Regions from separate parts of the Homo sapiens genome. Here regions 1, 3, 4, 5, 6 and 7 are each linked to region 2. Evidence: promoter capture Hi-C in 16 types of primary human blood cells and fetal thymus (Javierre and others, 2016). All regions are on one chromosome and are shown on one strand. Each heading gives the region's core, a stretch centred on a gene start or on the middle of the fragment in contact. The rest is flanking DNA. Distances are from core to core; before and after follow the strand shown.

Region 1 (2,938 bases), core at 398-2,897, 880 kb before region 2:
TTTTAAAGAGGACCCTTATAAATCCTTATTTACTTCTGTAAATAACTTTTTCTTATAAAAATTATTACTAAAAATTTGGAAAAAAATATAAAGAGCTTACAAAAGCCACCACAATTCTACCACTTGGGGAAGATGAGTGAAGAAGATGTGCAATGCATTCTTTTGAATTAACTTTCTGCATCATTTTTACATAACTGTTATTGTTCTCTCTATATAACTTGGTGTCCTGCATTTTTCCATTTAACAGTGTTATATCTTCAGTTGGTAGAATATGTATTACTATGTAAAGAATTTCCTGGGTAAAGAAAGGATTCTCTGGTGCAGAGAAAATATATGTAGACAATAAAACTGAATGGAAGTACCTAGGTCTTCCTGGGTTCCGGATCCAGGTCGAGATGTCTTTGGTGGATTTTTGAACATGTTCTTTACCCTACCCAGTGCATTCTGCTCTCTCCCCATGGCTGACCATAATGGTGGTCTACTTATTCCTCTCCTGGATTCAGTCTATCCCTCACTCCTCCCATCCTTCATACTGAAGTTGAACCAGGACAGTCTCTTTGTCCCTTTAATTCTGGAGAGTGATTGACTGGTTGGCCCCTAGAATTCTACCTTGGTTTCAAAGTGAAATATCCTTTTGTACCAAGCCCCAATCATAGGAAAATCATTTCCTATCTTTCATTTCCTTTTTCTCACATTCTGAGTAAACCCTTCTCACTTATGGGTTTATGTCTTGAAATCTGGGAGTGGGAATGGAGTTAACCAGATCAGGCGCATTCAGCAAAGCTGACCCCCTAAGTTATAAACTCAAGTTAGTTCATACAAACTCTTTCTCTGGCCTTTCTTGCTTCTGGATAACATGGCATGCATGTTCCCATACTAAGGTCATTAGCTCACAACTTTAAAAATTCAGAGGGAACTCTTGTCAATTCAAGGCAAATTTTAGGAGGGGCATATCCAAAAAGTGCCTCTCTCCACGATGTTTGAGGAACACATGTTCCCCAGCATATGAAGGAAGAGTCAAGTTTGCCACAGATTACTTTTTTTTTTTTTTAATGCAGTATGTGCAGAAAGCATCTAGATGCCTCCTACTGTGAGACGGCTTTGGATAGGCACAGAGATTTCTTAACCGGTTAAGTTACATAGCATATGTGAGATTCTTGTCTCAGCAATAACCAAAAAAAGTGTTGGCATTTCACATATTCAGTTGAATATAAAGTGACACCTATCTAGAACACTTAATCTTAAGTTATTCTCACTTTTTAAAGGGAAAAATAAAAAATTCTCCTTCTCTATAATAGGGCAACCTAGTTATTGGATGCTTCAAAATATTTTAGATCATATTTTATTTCTAAATGACTTCTTGATGTCAAAATTCAAATATAATTAATAAGTATTCATTCTCCTAATTCCTTACAATGAAAGGAAGATAAATGGTAAATGTCAGTGAAACTGATGATATATATCTATACTTCATCTTATTCTTTTTTTTTTTTGAGACGGAGTCTTGTTCTGTTGTCAGACTGGAGTGCAGTGGCGCGATGTCAGCTCACTGCAACCTCCGCCTGCCAGATTCAAGCGATTCTCCTGCCTAATGTAGGCTGGGTGTGGTAGCTCACACCTGCAATTCCAGAACTTTGGGAGGCTGAGGTGGGTGGATCACCTGAGGTCAGGAGTTTGAGACCAGCTTGGCCAACATGGCGATATCCCATCTTTACTAAAAAAAAAAAAAAAAAAAATTAGCCGGGTGTTGTGGCACGCGTGCCTGTATTCCCAGCTACTTGGGAGTCTGAGGCAGGAGAATCACTTGAACCTGGGAGGCAGAGGTTGCAGTGAGCCGAGATCGTGCCACTGTACTCCAGCCTGGGCAACAGAGTGAAACTCTGTCTCAAAATAATAATAATAATAATAATAATAATAATAATGCATATACATATTCATGTATAACAATGTTTCATATAAAATTTATAATAAGATCCTCAGAATAGTATTGTTGAGGATATAGATAAGAAAACATACTCACAGAGTTTGTAACTAATTCACTCTATTATGTAGTTTATGAGAAACTGGGTTTTCTGAGTGTTCCTCTAGTTCTCTTTCAAGATATCACCCTATCTCATAAACAAGCTATCATAGGGGACAAGAGATAGGCTAAACAAAGGTATAAGATCACATAAATTTGAGAGACCGTAGGTTAAACAATATTAAATATAGTGGTTTTCACAAAACTCCTTCATCTTTAATTAGCTATTATGTTCTTAAATATCTTCAAGAGTTGTATCTAATACACAGTGATTTCCATGCTCATTTGACCAGGAGCCATTTTTTCTTTTTTAAATGGAGAACTAGGTCTAAGTGGCCATAGGGCTCACTTTGAACATACAAGGTTATGGGAACATTTTTAAACATTAATCCAATTTAATAAATCTATGCTAAGAATATTATCCAAAATATGGAGACTTCTATACTGCAAAGTACATGGTTTATTATGAAAAGAAATTGAAATAACTTAAATGCTCAATGATAGAGAAATGGTTAAGAAAATTATGATAGTCAATAAAACATCACAAAACCAGTAATAATGATAGAGTGGACACTGTGATAATGAGTAGAAATTATAATCTATCTTAACTGAAAAAGGGGTGCATTTTTACAATGATTACAGCTGCGTAAAGAAGCAAATCCCAGAAAAAAACAGAAAGAAAAATGCCAAAATCTTAACATTAATTATAATAGGGTTACACATTGCAAATGTTTTGCTTTTCTTTCTCTGTATTTTCTATGTAGTCTATGAAAGACTTTAGTACTAGATCAGCCAATGCTATCCTACCTTACCATGCAGAAGGACATTAGGAATAATCTCTGGATGTCCAGTTTTAAGAGATTCCCCCAGAGACTGAGCCATTTCTGCGTGGGGGGCAGGACTGGAAATTAAGTCAGG
Region 2 (2,986 bases), core at 487-2,986:
CAGTGCAGGCCGCTGCCCCCTCCCCGGGCTTGTCAGCGTGTGAAGCGGGGTCTACTCCCCAGCTCTGGCTGTTCAGCAGGAGCACCTTCCAGCATGGTTTTAGAAGTCCGGGCTGGAAAGCTTCTGAAACCGCTAAACCAAGTTGCGAGCGTTGTATGTGCGCGCGCGCACACTCAAGATTCTTCCGACAACAGCTGTTCCCCCGGGCTGTTTTTGCACAGTTGAAATCTTGGCACTTAACACAAAACGTTAAAGTTGGCTTCTCCCCTCCTAGGGTTCTGTTAAAATACAGACATGACATCCCCCCTGCTTTTTACATGTTCCGTGCACATAATATACATGGGTTACTGTAGGATCTGAGACACAAATCAATCGTACCCACACCCTAAATACACAGAGATGTGGGCCCTGAAGAGTGACCCAAGGAGTAAGGGGTCTAACATCCATTCTTGTTTCCGTAAACGCCAAAGGAGTAGAAATATAATTATGTTCCACCATCGAAAAGTTGGTGGGAGAAAGGCAAGGACGAGGTTGAAGGCTAAATGAGACAACTGGTCATTCCCCGAAGACTGAGGTATTGGATTGGAGAACGCCGCGCCAGTCCTCCCGAGTTCTCAGAAGCGAGTCCTAGATCTCGGCTCCCGCCGTTGCCTTCGGCCCGCGCCCCTCCCAATCCCAGGGACCGGCAGCCCTTCATCCACGGACACCCAGAAAGCTGCGCTCTCCACCCAAAAGAAAAAGAAATGCAAACAAACAGGACTCCTTGCTTAGGCTGGCGACGAAAATGCAAGGCTCAGTCCAGCCCCAAAAATTGGTTCCGGTGAATTTAGGGAGGCTCAGGGCATTTGCGCGAAGAAACAGAAACCTATGTTGGGGCAAGGCAGGGCGTCAATGGCAGGGCCTAGCTCCTCACCCGCGACCGGCGACTGGCCCTTCGGCGTCCCCTCTCCGCCCGCCTCCCGCGGTCGGCTGCGACGCACTCACCCGGGTGAGGCTCCAGGCCGTGTGCCGCCGCGTCCTCCGTGTCTCCGAGTGGGCCCGCGGGGCTCAGCGCCTCCATAGACAGGTCCAGCCCCTTCTCCTCCCAGTCTCGCAGTTTCCGTTTTTTATTTGAGCCGATCAAGGCTTCAACGGAGAAGGCATGTGCTCGCGAGCTCAGGGCGACTGCAGATCTTCTCCTTTCACTCATTTTAGCCGCCCACACCCCTGCCTCCGCTTGCCCCCGCTACCGAGGGAGCAGCCGGCGCCCTCAAGCTCTGAGCGCCCACCGGGCCCGGCCCGGGAGAGGCGGAGGCGCGTCGGACGAGGCTGAGACTGCGGCTCGCGGGTCTCTCCACCCTCCCCCTGCGTCCTCCTCCGCCCTCCTCTGCCGGATCCGACCTGCGCCCCTACGCTGGCCCAGCTGCTAGGAACTAGCGCCCCGAGCGCCGCCCGCTCGCTGCATGAGCGCCCGAGTCCTGCTTCCCACCCACCGGGGCAGGCGCTCACAGACTGTGTCCACTGAACTTCATCTTGTTTTTGTTATTATTATTATTCTCTCTCCTCTCTCTCTCTCTCTCTCTCTCCCCTCCCTCTCTTTTTCTCTCCTCCCCCTCTCTCTCTCTTCCTCTCTGCCTTCCCGTCCTCCCTGTGATCCAAACTTCTGGGAAACTTTTTTTTCCGCTAAATTCCTCCCTTCCCGAGGAACAGGGGGCAGGCGGTGCGCTCCTGTCCGAGGGGTGAGGGAGAGGGAGGGGGAGGAAGAAAAAGACTGAGGGGGAAAAAAGCCAGCCCCCAACCAATAGCGAGGAGGGAACAAGAGAAACTCCGAGAGCGCGAACCAATGAGAGGAAGGGAGAGACTGAGGCCCGGGCCAAAGCGCAGCGCCAGTCGTCCCCTGGATGCTCCTGGGCCGACTTTAACCCCTGGCTTCCCGGTTTCCCCATGGGTTACTCCAAGAGGGAGGTAGGACAGTTGAAAGTTGAGGTCTGATCTGCGCCTTTACAAACTCCTGCAAATCCCAAATCCATACGTTTTTCTTCCAGATCTGCTGGTCTCATAGACGCTGCAAGTCCAGAGTCACTTTAGTTGCAGATCTGGAATTTTGGGGCTCTGACAAAATGTTAACCTGTCCAAAATGCCAGAAAACGATTCTGATAATTTCGCGTCAGCCCCTAGGTGCTTTAGAATATTCTGGTTCCTCCTGGATTTCGCCACACAGGTTTTAATGTTCCTACTGAACGTTTTCTAAGCAAATCTGGGTAAGGCAAAAGGAAACAAACAAACAAGCAAACAGAAAGCCCTGTTACTAACCAGGGTCTTGTAACTGAAAATTCAAAGACCGCTTCCTCCTTCCAGCTCTACCTGGTGGAGAAGGAGACACAGGCGCCTTGAGAGCAAGGGGCGGGCGGCGGAGCGCGGGGTTTAGGGCGAGCTCCTCAGGCGTATTCCAGCTGGGCCCCCTCACGCCGCAAATACTCTCTTTCCCTACGGCCCGAACGCTGGGCTGCGCTTCGCCTGTTCCGGGCTCTTGTTGCAGAGAACCTATGGAGAGGTGACAGGCAAGAACAGCTAGGAACTTTAACAGAAGAGAAGGAGCTTTTTCAAAATTCCCTGCAAATCCCGTTACCTCAAGACCATGGCTTTCCCGGCCAGCTGATCTCCCCCCTGGCCGCCCCCTGCCTTTTGCGATCTCTAAGGACTGCATTCAACATGGATTTCTAAGGAATTAAAAAATCCAACGCTCCTGGCCATTCTTAATTCCCACACCTCTTCCCAAGTTACGCCACCGGTCGAGGACGGCAGGAGACCCCCGAGTGCAGAGAAAGCTCAAACCGGCAGCGAAGTCGGTCCTAGCCAAGCTGAAAAAACGTCTCGGATTTCGCGGACAGCGGCCTAGACACAGCCCGATCTTCCAGTCCTAGTGCCCTGGTCGAGACGGTTCTATCCTTTTGCAAAGAAGCCGGAAAGAGCTGGGTCCCGGGGGCGGGGGACAGACTGAGAGGCC
Region 3 (3,146 bases), core at 285-2,784, 860 kb before region 2:
ACTGTAACTATGGATTTATTTCTGGGTTCTCTATTCTGTTCCATTGGTCTGTGTATCTCTTTTAATACCAGTACCATGCTATTTTGGTGACAGTAGCTTTGGGATACATTTTGAAGTCAGGTAGTATGAAGCCTCCACTTTGTTCTTTTTGCTTAGTATCGCTTTAGAGAATTTGGGGTCTTTTGTGATTCCATATTAATTTTAGGATTTTTTTTTCTATTTCTGTGTATTAGGCCTTTCTTGCACTGCCCTAAAGAAATACCTGAGGCTGGATTATTTATAAAGAGAAGAGGTTTAATTGACTGACAGTTCTGTAGGCTGTACAGGAAGTAGGGTGCTGGCATCTGCGCAGCTTCTAGGGAGGCCTCAGGAAACTCACAGTCAACTGTGGGAGTAGACACTTCACATGGTGAAGGCAGGAGCAAGATGGGAGTGTGGGGAGGTGCCACACACTTTTAAACCACCCGATCTCATGTGAACTCAGAGCAAGAGCTCACTTATCTCTAAGGGGATAGCCCAAGCCATTCATGAGGAATTCAACCCCATGATCCAAACACCTCTCACCAGGCCCTGCCTCCAACAGTGGGGGTTATATTTCAACATGATATTTGGGTAGGGACAAATATCTAAACTATCTCGTTCTGAAGAATGTCATTTGTATTTTGGTAGAGATTGCATTGAATATGTAGACTGCTTTGGGTAGTATGGTCATTTTGACAAGATTCATTCTTCCAATCCATGAACAAAGGATATCTTTTCTTTTTTGTGTGTCTTCTACAGTTCCTTTCACAGTGTTTTGTAGTATCCATTGTAATGATAGTTCATCTTCTTGGTTAAATTGATTCCTAGGTGGCTGGGCACAGTGGCTCATGCCTATAATCCTAGCACTTTGGGAGGCCAAGGTGGGTGGATCATGAGGTCAAGAGACTGCGACAATCCTGGCCAACATGGTGAAACCCTGTCTCTACTAAAAATACAAAAATTAGCTGGGCATGGTGGCGTATGCCTGTAGTCTAACCTACTTGGGAGGCTGACGCAGGAGAATCGCTTGAATCCCGGAGGCGGATGTTGCAGTGGGCCAAGACCGCACCGCTGCACTCCAGCCTGGCGACACAGCAAGATTCCATTTCAAAAAGAAAAAAAAAAAAAGATTCCTAGGCATTTTACTTTATTTTTGTGCAGCTGTTGCAAATGGGATTGCTTTTTTGATTTTTCAGCTAGTTTGTTATTGGTGTATAGAAAAGCTGATTTTTGTATGTTGATTTTATATCCACCTTTACCAAATTTATTAGTTCTAAAAGTTTTTTGTGAAGTCTTTAGGTTTTTCTATGTATAAAATCGTGTCGACTGCAAAGAGGGACAACTTGGTTTCCCATTTTCCAATTTTGATACCCTTTATTTCTTTCTTTTACTTGATTGCTCTGGCTAGGACTTCCAGTACTATGTTGAATAGAAGTGGTGAGAGTGGGCATCCTTATCTTGTTCCAGTTCTTAGAGGAAAGGCTTTCAGTATTTCCCTGCTTCGTAGAAATGACTCAGGCTGGCAGCCACCTCCATTTTCTACCTTCCTTCTCTTTAAATCTTAAATCATTTTCCTAAAAATCCTGCTTTCAGTCTGAGACTAGTGATTGAGACCCTACTAGTTACTGACTGACTCATGCTGCCTGCTTAGCTATCTGAATATGGCTGGTCCCTGAACTTCCTGCACCCCAACACTGGAGCACTAGATGTGTTAATTTAGCCTTTGGTTTGGATACCATGTTCCACTTCTCAGACTAGAGGTTGCTGATTGCTCCTCCATCATGTCACCTTCCTTCATAGGAGAATCTGACTTTTTTTCAGGCATTGCCCTCTCTCTCATTCAGCTCATGTGACTCAGGGGAAACACAGCTCCATGGGTGGGCCCCTTCACACTAAAAATAATCCTAACCCCCCTTGTCCATGATTGGTTCAAGAGGTGCATGTGATTTTGTTCAGGCCAGTAGAATGAGGCATGGTTTTCTGGGGCTGCTTGATCTGGTTTCCTTGGTCATGACAAAGCTCTGGGAAGAGTCTTAAGGGATGAGATTGCTGCAGCCACTTTACCTTCTTCGGGAAGCTGAAGCTCCTACACAGATGAAGGAAGGGGTAAGAGCACAGCAGGGAAGTGGGCTGGAGCCCCTGAACTAAGCTGACCTTGAAGCCTGCCTGGACTTCTACGTCTGCATGCCAGTACATTTCCTAATTGTTTAAGCCAACTTTAATTTTTGTTGTTGTTAACTTAGAAGATGAACAAATTGATACTGATATGGAGAGATTTATGCCTTCTAATTAATAGAATTTTAAAAATTAACCAGACAATACTAAGATGTGTTTCCCAGACTAGCAGCATCAGTATCACCTGACAATTTGTTAGAAACGTAACTCTTGGGCTCCAACGCAGACCTGCTGAATCTGAAACTCTGGGGGTAGGGCCAGCAGTGTTTGCTTTTAACAAGACCTCAGGTGATTCTGATATACGCTAGATTTGAGAACCATTGTTTTGTACCTGGTTTCTTATGTGGCCTTTCATAATAATGTATTTAGCCCACATATTGTCAGTTTCACCCTTGCCCTTGCTAACTCTCAGTTATGCATTTATATTTCCTTAATTTCTTTCTCCTCCTCCTCCCCCTGCCCATCCTCCTTCTCTTCCTTCTTCTTTCTCTACCTTCTTCTTCTTCCTCTTCCCTTCTTTCTTTCTTTTCTTTCTTTCCCTTTCTTTTCTTTCCTTCTTTGTTTTTTTCTTTTTCTTTCTTTCCTTCTTCTTCTTCCTCCTCTTCTTTGTCTTCTTCTTCTCCCTCTTCCTCCTCCTCCTCTTCCTCTTCTTCTTCCATTTAGACTTACTAAGCTGCCCCTTTCAGAGGACAGCCTGGAGTCCTGGAGTGGGATTTCTGCTAATGTCCTGCTAGACAAAGAATGTATTCAGTGTATCAGCCCTGTCTTCATTTACCCTAAGTTCTTGGTTTCTCCACAATTATCAAAAAGTTGTAGTGTTTCTCCAGCTTGATGTGGATGATGTTCTAGGCTGTTGTTAATTTCTAAGTATTAATCTGAATGAAATCTGCTTATAAAAGGGCTTATTCCTTGAATTTCCTTGTCCTCCCCCTTAATCTCTTTGACTTGTT
Region 4 (3,025 bases), core at 61-2,560, 770 kb before region 2:
CACACACACACACACACGAGGTGACAGTTTTTGAAAATAAGGCTTACCTTTATACCTGTGATGCTCTGCTAATTTCTACTCTATTCTAGTTTGTGGAAAACAATGCTGATCCAGGAACCACTGAATATATTTCACAGCCTCAAATGAATCGGAGCTGGCAGTTTAAGAAATAAACTGCTCTGGAGCAGACATCAAAACAAAGCAAAATAAAAACAAACAAAAATGCACATAGAAACCAGTTATTATAAATATGTGAATTTGCCTGGATATGACAATAGTTAGCCTGTGGATAAATTGATAAAGTATATAGTCTTTGTAAGGCTGTTGAAAAAGTCTTAAAAAGGAACAACAAAAATTACAACAGCAAAACAAAACAAAATTTATTGTGTAGGCTTCATAAAGCTAGTCTGGGCCTAATTTGACCCATGGTCAGTTGGTTTGTCACTTCTGTTCTAAAAGGCAGAATGCAATTGAAGATGTTTTAAATGAATTGCAATGGTCTTAAATGTGAGAGTTTAATTTTACTCTAACTCACTGAGTTACCTTATCTATCTCCAAATTCTTCTCTTTTTAGGCATATTAGCAGAAATTTTTCTGAATGACAGGAGACATTTGACCTTTCAATAAAATAGAAATGATGATATTAAGTTTCAGGTGAATTGCATGGATCAATTTATCCAATCAAAAGTCACCCTCTGACAATTTTTCTATTGAATGGTATGTGCATGTGTAATTGTTATTGTCATAATTATCTTATTATTATTTTATGTGTAGCCCATGTTTGAAATTATTTGAAATTTCAATATTTGACTCTTTTAAATATTAAAACATATTTTCTTTCTTTTAACGTTCAATTAGTGTTACACTTGACCTTAAATTCTGCTTTCTTATTCCCCATATACACTTAGAGACTGATTTTTGTTTTGCACAGAAATAAATTTTAACTTAAAATAATTTCCACACCTACTTTGTTTAAAGAAGAGCTACGAAACATTAAATTTAATTTATGAAGCCTTCTATTTGTGTTCCAGTCCTCTGCACATACACACTGTGTTAATGCTATGTCTCTATATGCCAATGACATTAGAGTTTCTGGCAAAACTCAATATGTAATCAATTATCACCTGTCATGAATGACTTTTAAGATCCAGCCAGATATTTTGGAAATACCGCTTAGTTCCACTGAGAAGGAAAGTCTCCCTCTGAAAGTGGTATGGCCCTCATCTTTAAATCTCTTATTCAAAGGCATTTGGACAACTTTCAGTTTAAGTCAATGTGCAATAAAGTCCAGCAACTTACATCTTAAAAAAATAGAGTTGTAGCTATTTCAAAATGAGTTCAAGAGTATGTTGTTGCTTAGAAATGATAACAAATCTTAAATCATTTTTTCCCTCTATAGGGGAGCACAAGAATCTTATATGCACCAGTTACAGGCCAATGCCTTTTTTTTTTTCCTTTCTCTTTAATGCTTGTGTTGGTTTCAAACTCACCAGTTAAGAAGAACTGGAATCTGCCTCCTAGGATTCCAATAGTGTGCTTTCTTTTCCTTTTCTTTTTCTTCATTGATTCTCTCAGAGAAAACAGAAATCAATTATTATCCTGCCAGCTGGAGAAAATCACTGATATCCAAACATAATGGCTTTTCTAGGCATAGCATATATACACATTTGGAGGTCATGGTCTTATCTACAGTAGATGTTCAACAAATGCTATCAAGAAACGAACTCCCTGAACAATCTGGATCTTAAGTAGGTAATGTAAGGCCACTTTCCCTAGTTTTAAAAAGCTGCAGTAAGTTAGTTTCCTGGTGATCACATTGCTCGGTGGGCTCTTTGAAAAGTATTGCATCTGCGCATGTTGATTCCCTATGTTTGAACTTGGATATCCTCATTTCTGAAAGGTTGGATTAGGTGGTCAGATGATGTCTGCCAGTTTCAACATCTGAAATGCCTCTAGTTAGACCCTCTAGCCTGCCTTGAAGGGAACAGGCTTTCTTAAACCTCCAGGGGGCAGCCCCATACCAGTTGTTAGGAGAAATAGGATCAGCTCATTGGGAGGAAGAGGATAGACCTTCTGTCCCTTGCTCAGGCAAACTATGCGTGGACCACATAGAGCTGCTGTCATGGAAATTTGCATGAAATACACAGCACCTTTGATGGACTCAGCCTGGGGTGGAGTGAGTGTGGGGCATAGAGGAGCTGCTTTTATTGGTGACTAAACTGTCAAGGTTGATAGCTGTAAATCTCAGTTCCACCACTTGTAGATATTTTCAGTGAGACCTAGAGAAGAACAGGTGTTTGTGGCCACCAAGTGACCACAGGTGAGAGATTAGAGTAGTAGATTCACAGTAATCTGTTTCCCTGGGTTTGAGGGAATAAAAACTATGTATATTCATTGTGTTTGTATATGTATGAGTATATGCTATTAAAAATGCACACTTGGGACAATTAACAACATCATTCAAATACCTGCATTGGGAATATTTGAATACCTGCGGTTCTCTTAACTGTTTATGCATCAGCTATCCACTTAAGTTGATAGTTGTTCAATAGCTGATTCTAGAAGCTCTAAGAGCCAAGGTCTTGTGAGGATCCTTGGTTTGATCCATTTTTTGCTGTATAGATTTGCCTTCCTTTCTTCAAGGAGATAAGAATGAGGATGGATTCTTTATTGATAGATCAGCAGTTTAATGCAGATTGAATTCCAAACATATTTGTTAAGCATATTCTGAGGGTGGTGGAGGAATGGGGGATGCTTACAAAACACTAATATGTGTCTTTTGCTCTCGGTGAGTTTATATTTTAGCAGGATATGCAAGAACATAAAATAAGCATCTAAGTAACTGCTGGGCATGGTGGCTTATGCCAATAATCTCAGTACTTTGGAAGGTTGAGGTGAGCAGATCCCTTGAGTCCAGGAATTTGAGACCAGCCTTGGCAACATGGCAAAACCCAGTCTCCACAAAAAATACAAAAATTAGCCAGATGTGGTGGTGTGTGCCTGTAGTCCCAGCTACTTGGGAGGC
Region 5 (3,173 bases), core at 517-3,016, 840 kb before region 2:
GGACATGATCCCAGGCAGTCTGGTTTGGTTCCATACTTTTAACCACTAGGTATATCGCTCACCAAACTAGTGGTAGGTACTCTGGAGATGAATTTACCTCTAATTAGTTTTAATTAGTGAGATTTTAGAAAGGTCTCTCCACACTTTGATCTCTGCTGAATATGTATTAACTTCCCTCTTATTTTCCATCTTTCTTTCTTTCATCCTCCAAAGAAAAGACATGGTCACTTAACCATATAAATCTTAACCATAAGAATTAAAAAACCCTGTTGACCCAAACATGTGGGCAAAAGCCACTCATCGAAGTGGCTTAAAAGCTCCAACTGAAATTATTTGATCTCTTCATCATCTGCAGATATACCTTCATGTTTTTGCCTGAGTAGAAGGAAAAGTAATAAACATATCATAGAACTACTGAGAGATTTAAAGCTTAATTCTAAGTAACTAGCAGTAGCTTATATTGAAGACATATTAAACCACAACAGTCACTTCCAGAATTTAAACTATTTATTCTCAGCTTGTGTGTGATGCAAGTAGAAAAAACAGACTTCTGAATCAACAAGTTACCTAACCAGTCTGATTCAAATTTCATCATTCATAGGTATCTGAAAGGTTGTTAAGATGGTTAAGTTAGCCAGGTGCAGTGGTTTACACCTATAATCCCAGTAATTGGGCTGGCAGGGGCGGGAGGATAGCTTGAACCCCAGGAGTTCAAGACTTACCCAGGCAACATAGCACGCTCCTGTTCCCCACAAAAAGAAAAAAGCCAGCCAAAAAAAAAGAGATTAGGTTAGTTGATATATATGAACTACCCAGCACACAAGACTTGGAATACATGTGTTCAATAAGTGGTAACTTTTATTATCACCATATGTAATTATTGATTTTTCACAGTTTTAAATACAGAAACAGAATGATACAATCTTCTTGATTCCTTCCCCAGCACCCCTCCAATCCTGGTGTCTGTAGAGTATAGGGTGTTAAGAGGTTTCAGAAACCACCCCAGCCCAGACCTGGAGGAGAAGCTGTGATGACTTCTCTTCATTAGCTGAACCTCACTTTATTCTTGTGGCTGGCCCTCCACTGAGGTCTGTCTTGGAACTCCTGATGAGATTCCTGCCTTGCCCACTGCCTGCAGGTCCTAGCCAGCAACCCAGTCCTTGTGTGGCATGGGCTTCCTGCTGCTGGATCCCCGGCTCCACTGCATCACCACCACACCTCCCCAGTGTCTACCTCCCCTCTCCTGGACTGCTAACTATTTGCCACATGGGCTTGGCCAGCTGCCTGACCCCCAGGGTGGAAGAGAGCTGGGGCATGATTTGAATTGTTTTTGAATGCCTTTACTTGAGTTCTGCTTTTCTTTGAAAATAGAACTCCAGGTTTCTGATCTGGGAGGCAAACGTATTCACACCCTGGGAGCCCATTCCTAAAGCAATGGAGCCCTGACCTTCTGCCCCTCAGTGACTAGCTTGAACTTGACTTTCTCTGCTGAGCTGCTTTGGTGCCCTCCAGAAATGTGGGGGCCCAGGGCTGTTAACACATCTGACTGCTCTTTTCCCCATCTTGACAAAAGTCATTCATTTGTAACTCTTCATAGCCCTTTGTAACCGTTTCTAGCATTACTATTTCTCCTCTTCTTTCCTTCTTCGGGTAAGAAATGCCTCCAAAACCCAGATTTTGGCACAAGAACTCCTAGATTGTTTTTATAGTCCCAACGTAGCACTTCTTTGTTACAGCTTGATATTCCCAAATTTTGTTCCAAGTCTCATTATTTTACATTTATAAATATCAGGTTGTATTAATTGGTTCCAGCTTTAAAAAATGTTCCATCAGGGGTTATTTCTGCTATTTTGATAGTGGTTTCTAAATGTGGAGTGCCGAGGCCCTGGTGTGGGCCACGTTCTGTAGGCATCCCTGAAGGACTGATGTGGAACGGAAAGATCCGCAGATTCTGAGTCTTGCTGTATTCTTTGAAGACTGTACTGGCCATAATAGCTTCAAAGAATTTCAACAAGTTCCTAAGACATGACCTTCCCTTTCCGAAAATCACGTTGGCCAGGCTTGCCTTAATCAAGCTGTGCTTTTCTAAGCATCCTTTTACTTGATCTCCTGCAGCAGTTTTTAATACTTTTCCTACAAGTGAAGTTAAACTAACTGGCCTGCAATTTCCTGGTGTGTCCCTAAGCTCTATGAAATAACGGCATTAGGTTGGCTAGCTTCCAATTCTTCCAGAATTTTTTTGTTTTGTTTTAAAGCGCGGGATTGAAAAGGCCAGAGAATGCTTCCTGTCTCCCTTTTCCTTCGTTTCTTCCATGACATACTGCTCTCTCTGTTCCCAGTAGAGCTGCCATTTTAATAACTTCAAACCTCTTAAATGTTTTCACATATTATTTGTACCTATCTCTGAAGCATGAGTTTTCCATTTTTCATTCTGACAAGGGCCACCCCCAATATAAGGGCTTACAATTCTATTAAATTGACTATTAATTCAAGGCACTGTTTAAAAAATGAGTTTCATATCAGGAATCTGAAAAAGAGTGGCAAAATAGATTATAATTAAGCCTGTGTTCTCACTTGTCAATTACTAATAAATACATGTTGGAAAAGACCTGAGAAAAATTTCTATACATCCAGGAAACAGAAGTCAAAAAATGGAACTATTACATCTGGGCATACTAATCTGAGGCACTAGCATAGTGTCTTAAAGTATGGTGAAATGCATTAGATCTGAAGATCTAATTTGCATTCTACATTTTATTAAACTGCATTTGGTCCATTATTTTTAAATCTAATATCAGAAAAATCTTTCCACATTTGATGGTCTCCCGGTTGCAATAGAAAGGCCCGTAGAAATATTTTAAGATATATTTGTTAAAAAGTTATTTTAAAAATTATTTTCTTAAAAATATGAGAATTTTTTTACTGACAGGAGTAAAAAAAAAATTAATAATTATTTGCATTTACAAAATTGCACCATATCACATAATGTTTAGGATAGTTCAAGTTCTTTATTGTACAGAAACTTGGAAAATTGTTTTGAAATAAGTGAGTCATCAACTAGAGCATAAGAACTTTTATTCTTTATAGACAATTTTTGTTTCAGTAAGCTTTTCATTTTTTTTATTTTTCATTTTGTGATGACCTAATGCGTCTTTTATAAATAAGTCACAGGC
Region 6 (3,032 bases), core at 212-2,711, 920 kb before region 2:
GCCAAGTCCTAAGATTAATTTTAGGAGAGACCACAGGCAACCCCATTTGTGTGCAGAAATATAGAAAGTCTCAGGATATGGAAATACTAGTCACCTCTGCAAGTGGGGTGAAAGTGGCACTGAAAATAGGAAGATTAGTTTAAAATCTTTTTAAGAAGCAGTTAGGCCCCTGGATTCCATTAAAATTCTGAGCAACTGGGCTATTGCCTATCTCCCACTCTAGCAGAGGGGAAGAGGGTAACTACAGATGGTAGATGAATGGGTTCTAAGAACAGTGGACCCAACGCACACTGACAGAGAAGTACATTCTAGAAAAAAAGGGAATTGTGTAAAAGCCTAAATCAGCACTGCTCAATAGAAATATAAAGTGAGCCACAAATGTGAGCCACATGTGCAATTCTAAATTTTATAGTAGCCACATTTTAAAAAGTAAAAAGAAACAAGTAAAATAAATGTTAATGATATATTATATTTAACCTGATAGATAAAAATTCTTATCATTTCAACATATAAACAATGTAAAAGTAATCAATGCCACCTTTTTAAAGTCTTGGAAATTGAGTGTGTAATAGCACTTATATAGTGTATAGCACAGTTATTGCACATCTCAATTTGGTCTAGATTCATTTCAAGTATTCAGAAGTTACATGTGACTAGTGGCTACCACACTGGATAATGCAGATCTAGATAATAAATGTCAGAAGCTTAATACCCTTCCCTCATTACCTAGCTCTCAAAACACTGACAGGAAGGCTTATGTCTTTCAGACAGAAAATTAGACTTTTTTTTTTTCATGGAGAATTTAAATGGCCCAAGAAAACAGAACTGACATACCAACAATGGTGAGTCTCCTATGGAAATCTCCCAGTCAAATCACCCAACAATGAACTCAGTTATTGACAACCCCCCACCCCACCTCATATAGCACTTCCTATCATATTTTTATTGTTTCATTATTAATATGAGCAAAGAGGACAATATTATATATTACCCTCCAATGTGAAAAATGAAGACGAAACAAAAAAGACAAAAAATGAGAAAAGAAACTTGGAGGAAAAAGAGATAATTCATGGAGAAGACAACTTCAGAGGACTTTAATATCCTCATAGAGATAAGAGAAGGTATTATATCAGAAATGCAGTGGCTCACACCTGTAATGCCGGCACTTTGGGAGGCCAAGGCGGGTGGATCACCTGAGGTCAGGAGGTCAAGACCAGCCTGGCCAACATGGTGAAACCCCATCTCTACTATAAATACAAACATCAGCCAGGTGTGGTGGCAAGTGCCTGTAATCCCAGCTACTTGGGAGGTTGAGGCAGGAGAATCACTTGAACCTGGAAGGCAGAGGTTGCAGTGAGCCAAGATCATGCCACTCCAGGCTGGGCGACACAGCGAGACATCATCTCAAAAAAAAGAAAAAGTGAAATGATTCTTTAAAAAGGTAATTTGAAATTATAAATATAACTTTAGGAAATCAGAATGATAATAACAGGAATAAAGGGCTCAATATAAGAAATGAATGGAAATTGAGCAAAGCCAAAAGATAAATTGATGGAAACTAAAAGAAAAAAGAAAGGGAAATTGCAGGTTCAGTCTAGCAGGTCCAACACCAGAGTAATAAGATTTCCAGAAAAAAAAGGACAGAGAAAATGGAGAGGAGAGATTATCAAAGAAATGATTATAGAAAATTTCCCAAAATATAAATACAGGAATTTCTGGATTGCACCGGCTTGCCAGAACAATACATAGAAACAGAACCACACAAAGGCATATCAACAGGAAATCAAGAGCATTGGAACAAAGAGAAGATCTTAAAATCTTCCAGGGAGAGGATCACAACATACTCAAACAACTGATTAGGAATCAGAATTGTATTTATTTATTTTTCTAAGGACAATCTGGGAAGTCAGAACACTGTCAAAAACTGTCTTTAAAGTATTGAGAAAAAATGCTTTTTAATTTAGCATTTACTATAAAGCCCAACTGTCAGTCAATATAAAGATAGAATTAAGCTGTTTTCAAATATTGAATGCCTCAAAAATTTACTTCCCGTCTATCTTAATTAAGGAAGCTACTGGAAGAGATGATTCTCTACAAAAAAGAGAGTAACCGGAGAGGGAACACATGGGATGAAGGCAACAGGTATCTAACTGGAAAGGAAGGGAATGGGTGTGGCCCGGATGACGGTAAAGGGAGGCCCAGGACCACAGCTGTGCAGCAAGCTTAGGGAATATGGGAGAGATATCACTAATACAATAAAACTAATAGAATATCTGTTATGTTTGAATGTATTGAGTGACTTACTCAGTAGTAGAGAATTTGGGGATAAGTTAATAATAAATACATAGTAAACTAAACAAATAGAAAAAGAGGCAATTATTAACTGCAGAGAAAATAAAAATGGTACCCATACAGGAAATGTAATTATAGAATACCACACAGTTCAGCTGTGAATAGCACTTACATAACTGAAATAAAGTGAGTTCTGAATACTTATCTAACCAAAAATTACGATATTGTTAACAGTATCAGAGAATGGAGAAGTGCTAATGTGAATGTGGGGGTGGGTGAGCCTGTACCTGTACATGCACATGTGTGTTGGATGGGGGTGGGCAAAGCTGTGTTCTCAAGAGCGAATCAATTGGTAATGATGTCACAAAACTAAAACTAAACAAAATATACTTGCTATTTAGAGATCACCGAGTAAAGTAACAAAAGAAAGGGGTAAATGCACTGAAGATTTTTGCCTCTGAGAACTGCGGCTTGGTGGAGTGGGGTGGGGATGGGGGAAGGAGGCTGCTATTTTTCATAGTAAGACTTTGTAGAACTTTCTGGCTTAAAAAACGTTGTAAAACTTTGATAAAAATAAAAATCAAATTAAAAAGACAAAACCAAAAGAGGACAAGTTTTTGTGTAAAAGCTAAACACAACAAAAGGATTTAGGTTTGGGATTACTTGTTATTTTGCTGAGTGGTTAAGAGTACAAGTTCCAGGGCCAGATTTCCTGGGTTTATATCTAGCTTCTCACTTAG
Region 7 (3,230 bases), core at 551-3,050, 830 kb before region 2:
CAAGCAATGGGAATATTTTGGCAGCCCAATTACATATCTCATAATATCCCTAATATCTGAAAGCAGGATGTGTCTGACCATGTGTTCTGATTTTTAGGTCTACAAATATGGTCTTCAAATGATAGGGTGAGAAAGAAGAGTTAAAGAAAGAGGATCCAGGGAGCAGTGCCAGATCTTCTAGGGAGCTGAGTTTGTATTATGCTAGCAGGGAATGATGGGAATTTCTCCAATAACTCCCTAGGGGTGTGTCAGAAAAACTATGAGACTGTAACTTGAGCAAGAATAGTGTCAGGGAATCTGTGCCCTACCTCAATTCAACAAAAATGAGTAGTCGTGCAGCTCAACAAGCATTTATTACATTAGTATGACTAAATGTATATGATGTAACAAACTAAGGGATACACAAAATGACTAAGATGGGAGTGTGAAAATGAGCAAACAATGCTTGTATCATGAAATAAATTTCTAGAGACTATTTCTTGTAAAGGCTATTTAACATCAGTGGCCCTGACTGGGTTTTACTGAGGGAATTAGTGTCCAGAGCTGGAGCTGTGCAGTAATCCTGACTTCTCCAGCTGCTCAGGACATAGCAATTGTGCTAGGAAAGTAAAAGGCAGTGGAGACCTGTCATAGGGTAAGGAAAATGAGGTCAGACCTTAAACAGACAAGTGGAGGGTAAAAGTATTAATCAAGATCAATCAATCCTAGTGGGAGGGAAGATAAAATTGTGGAGGGTGGAGGTGTCTGAAGTAGTTCCTGAGATCTTTCTTCTGAGAATGCTTGTAACTTTCTTTAGAGTTTCATGCAATTATCATTTTTTTTAATAGGGAAGGTTTTTTTTCTTCTTTTTTTTAGACGTAGTCTCGCTCTGTCGCCCAGGCTGGAGTGCTGTGGCAGGATCTCGGCACACTGCAAGCTCCGCCTCCCGGGTTTACGCCATTCTCCTGCCTCAGCCTCCTGAGTAGCTGGGACTACAGGCGCCCGCCCCCACCTGGCTAATTTTTTGTATTTTTAGTAGAGACAGGGTTTCACCGTGTTAGCCAGGATGGTCTCGATCTCCTGACCTCATGATCTGCCTGCCTCGGCCTCCCAAAGTGCTGGGATTACAGGCGTGAGCCACGGCGTCCGGCCAGGGAAGGGTTTCTTAGGAGGCAAACAAGAAGGACAGGTGAAAGAGAACTGGGGGGAAGGTGTCACTAAAGCCAGGGGAGGAATGGTGTATGTAGTCAAAGGCAATTAGAAGGTCACTGCTGACCTTAGCAAGAGCAGTTCTACTTGAGTGAAACTGCTTCCCACTCATTCCCTCACTTGTGTAATCCTACACACCCTCATAATTCACATATCTCCTTCATAATATAAAACCCCTTTAAGGACCACGTGACAAAGTATCCCCAGTCAATGATTAGAATAAATTTCAAGCCCTAGATCTGGTTATGGTTCTTAATTTTCTCCAATTACACAGGTACATGGAATCTATTTATTGGATACGTTAGGGCAGTAATTCATTATAATTATTCCTCTCATATTGATTCCCTAATAGAGTCCTTACAATAGCTCTTTCAATGGTGTAATAAAAAGAGCACTGGATTTAGTATCAGAAAACCTGATTGTTAGTCCTGATTCCAACCACATGGCCTTGGAAAAACATTTAAGTACTCACAACCTGGACCTTAGCAAAATAATAATAATACTTAGAGCAGAAAGTCCTTCATTCATTCAGCTAATATTTACTGAGGGGTTACAAAAATTGAAATGGGCATGGCATTGGGAATAGGCATAAGGCATAATCACTTCCCTTAAACAGCATCAGCCTGGGAAGAGAAATACACAAAAAAGGTGAAAAGAGATTACATGTAAACGTATTTCGCAGCTATGAAGCACTGTACAAATTGTTCATTTCTATTATCATATTGTTCATCCAAATGTATTTACTAATAATTAATATTTACTACGTGGGTACCTACGTTGCATGTGCTGCCCTAGAAATGAAGGATGCAAAATTGAATAACATGGAGCCCAAATTGTTTCATATTGTATTAACTAATTCTGCAATTTGTTTTTTTTCCTTCAACATTATGTTTTGATGTCTATCCATGTTGAGATATACAGATTTAGTTCATTTATTTTAATTGCTCTTGTCTTATTTATGTTTACATCCTTTATTTCTAGGGCAGCACATGCAACATAAGTACTCACACAGTAAATATTAACTATTAGTGAAATCATACAATAAACAATACTATATGTTATTCATGAATATAGATAAATAGATACATAGGCTAAGAGGATATGTATTCCATCCATATTAGTGTTTGCTTCTGAGAAGAAAGAGAAAGAAATGGAACATAGAATGGGGGTGAGGACAAGAGTTCTTCAGCTTTAATTTTACAGGTTTATTTCAAAAAAGAAAATAATTTTTTGTGAGGGTACAAATGTGCTTGCCACATTATCTTTTCGTGCTTTTCTGCATTTAAAAAAGTACTGAAAAAAAGTGTCTGCTCTCAAAAGACCAACAGTTTAGTAGAGGAAACAGATATAGAAACACTTATAATACAAGGTGATACGCATTGACCTAGAACCCATCTCTCCCTGTGTCTTAGGAAAAGCCTCACGAGCAGAGGTCACTTGAAGAATTAGTGGAAGGAATTCTTTGTCCATGTCCTGCTTGTCCACTGTCTGTCTATGTGGTGACCTCATTCCCACTGCCTGAGAAGCACAAGGTTTTCCTGCCGCGGTTTCCTCTCCTTTTTACATTTTCCATCTGAAAACATCCTTCACTGGCCCCAAGAACTTACTCCTTTTTGTTGGGCTGAAGAAGACATTCTGATTCCTTCTTCCTTTTTTTTTTTTTTTACTAGAGCAAATGACCTCTTCTCTAACTGTGTTCCTTCAATTTTCCCATCTCTCCCTCGCCTCGCCTTGTTTTCAATCCACTCCTCTTTCCTCTCTATCCCTACTTCACACATACATGGCCATCTTCACCTAAGCCCAGACTCCCCACTAACCATTTTCCCTTATGACCTTTTTACTTCATAGTCAAACTCCCCCAAACATGTGACCTACACCAAAAGCTCCCACATCCTGAAAGGCCATAATGTCCTTAATCCCCACACTCCCACTACACTTCTTCCCTCACCACCAGCACCACCACCATACACCCTATTGAAATTGCATTCTGGAAGATCACTGATTATGTCCTCATTACCAGATATGGTTGCCTTGCCTATTCT

The links. Contacts are between HindIII fragments. The CHiCAGO score rates a contact against its expected background, and 5 or more counts as called.
Region 1: a contact is called between a fragment that was not itself captured here and the fragment with the promoter of TBX15 in region 2, in 1 of 17 cell types (M2 macrophages). The highest score is 7.6, in M2 macrophages.
Region 3: a fragment that was not itself captured here is called in contact with the fragment with the promoter of TBX15 in region 2 in 1 of 17 cell types (M2 macrophages); the score reaches 7.5 in M2 macrophages.
Region 4: a contact is called between a fragment that was not itself captured here and the fragment with the promoter of TBX15 in region 2, in 1 of 17 cell types (M0 macrophages). The highest score is 5.3, in M0 macrophages.
Region 5: a fragment that was not itself captured here is called in contact with the fragment with the promoter of TBX15 in region 2 in 8 of 17 cell types (M2 macrophages, endothelial precursors, M0 macrophages and 5 more); the score reaches 15.1 in M2 macrophages.
Region 6: a contact is called between a fragment that was not itself captured here and the fragment with the promoter of TBX15 in region 2, in 2 of 17 cell types (M1 macrophages and endothelial precursors). The highest score is 5.8, in M1 macrophages.
Region 7: a contact is called between a fragment that was not itself captured here and the fragment with the promoter of TBX15 in region 2, in 2 of 17 cell types (M2 macrophages and endothelial precursors). The highest score is 9.2, in M2 macrophages.

Annotation. Positions count from the first base shown.
Region 1 is chr1:118,107,668-118,110,605 of GRCh38, forward strand. The region is part of intron 4 of SPAG17 (sperm associated antigen 17); the gene reads right to left. Among named protein-coding and RNA genes, the nearest start is that of SPAG17, 76 kb to the right of the region's middle. The HindIII fragment of the contact is 5,584 bases long and covers 1-2,938 here.
Region 2 is chr1:118,986,607-118,989,592 of GRCh38, forward strand. TBX15 (T-box transcription factor 15) reads right to left here and starts at 1,737. Exons shown (of 8, transcript NM_001330677.2): 1 at 985-1,737. The coding sequence starts at 1,189. RefSeq lists enhancers at 604-1,137, 1,138-1,670. The HindIII fragment of the contact is 3,656 bases long and covers 119-2,986 here.
Region 3 is chr1:118,126,991-118,130,136 of GRCh38, forward strand. All of the region lies in intron 3 of SPAG17 (sperm associated antigen 17), which reads right to left. Among named protein-coding and RNA genes, the nearest start is that of SPAG17, 57 kb to the right of the region's middle. The HindIII fragment of the contact is 3,703 bases long and covers 1-3,146 here.
Region 4 is chr1:118,221,531-118,224,555 of GRCh38, forward strand. No RefSeq gene overlaps it. Among named protein-coding and RNA genes, the nearest start is that of SPAG17, 38 kb to the left of the region's middle. The HindIII fragment of the contact is 3,922 bases long and covers 1-3,025 here.
Region 5 is chr1:118,142,784-118,145,956 of GRCh38, forward strand. All of the region lies in intron 3 of SPAG17 (sperm associated antigen 17), which reads right to left. Among named protein-coding and RNA genes, the nearest start is that of SPAG17, 41 kb to the right of the region's middle. The HindIII fragment of the contact is 2,678 bases long and covers 428-3,105 here.
Region 6 is chr1:118,070,239-118,073,270 of GRCh38, forward strand. The region is part of intron 17 of SPAG17 (sperm associated antigen 17); the gene reads right to left. Among named protein-coding and RNA genes, the nearest start is that of SPAG17, 110 kb to the right of the region's middle. The HindIII fragment of the contact is 1,518 bases long and covers 703-2,220 here.
Region 7 is chr1:118,160,704-118,163,933 of GRCh38, forward strand. The region is part of intron 1 of SPAG17 (sperm associated antigen 17); the gene reads right to left. Among named protein-coding and RNA genes, the nearest start is that of SPAG17, 23 kb to the right of the region's middle. The HindIII fragment of the contact is 4,228 bases long and covers 1-3,230 here.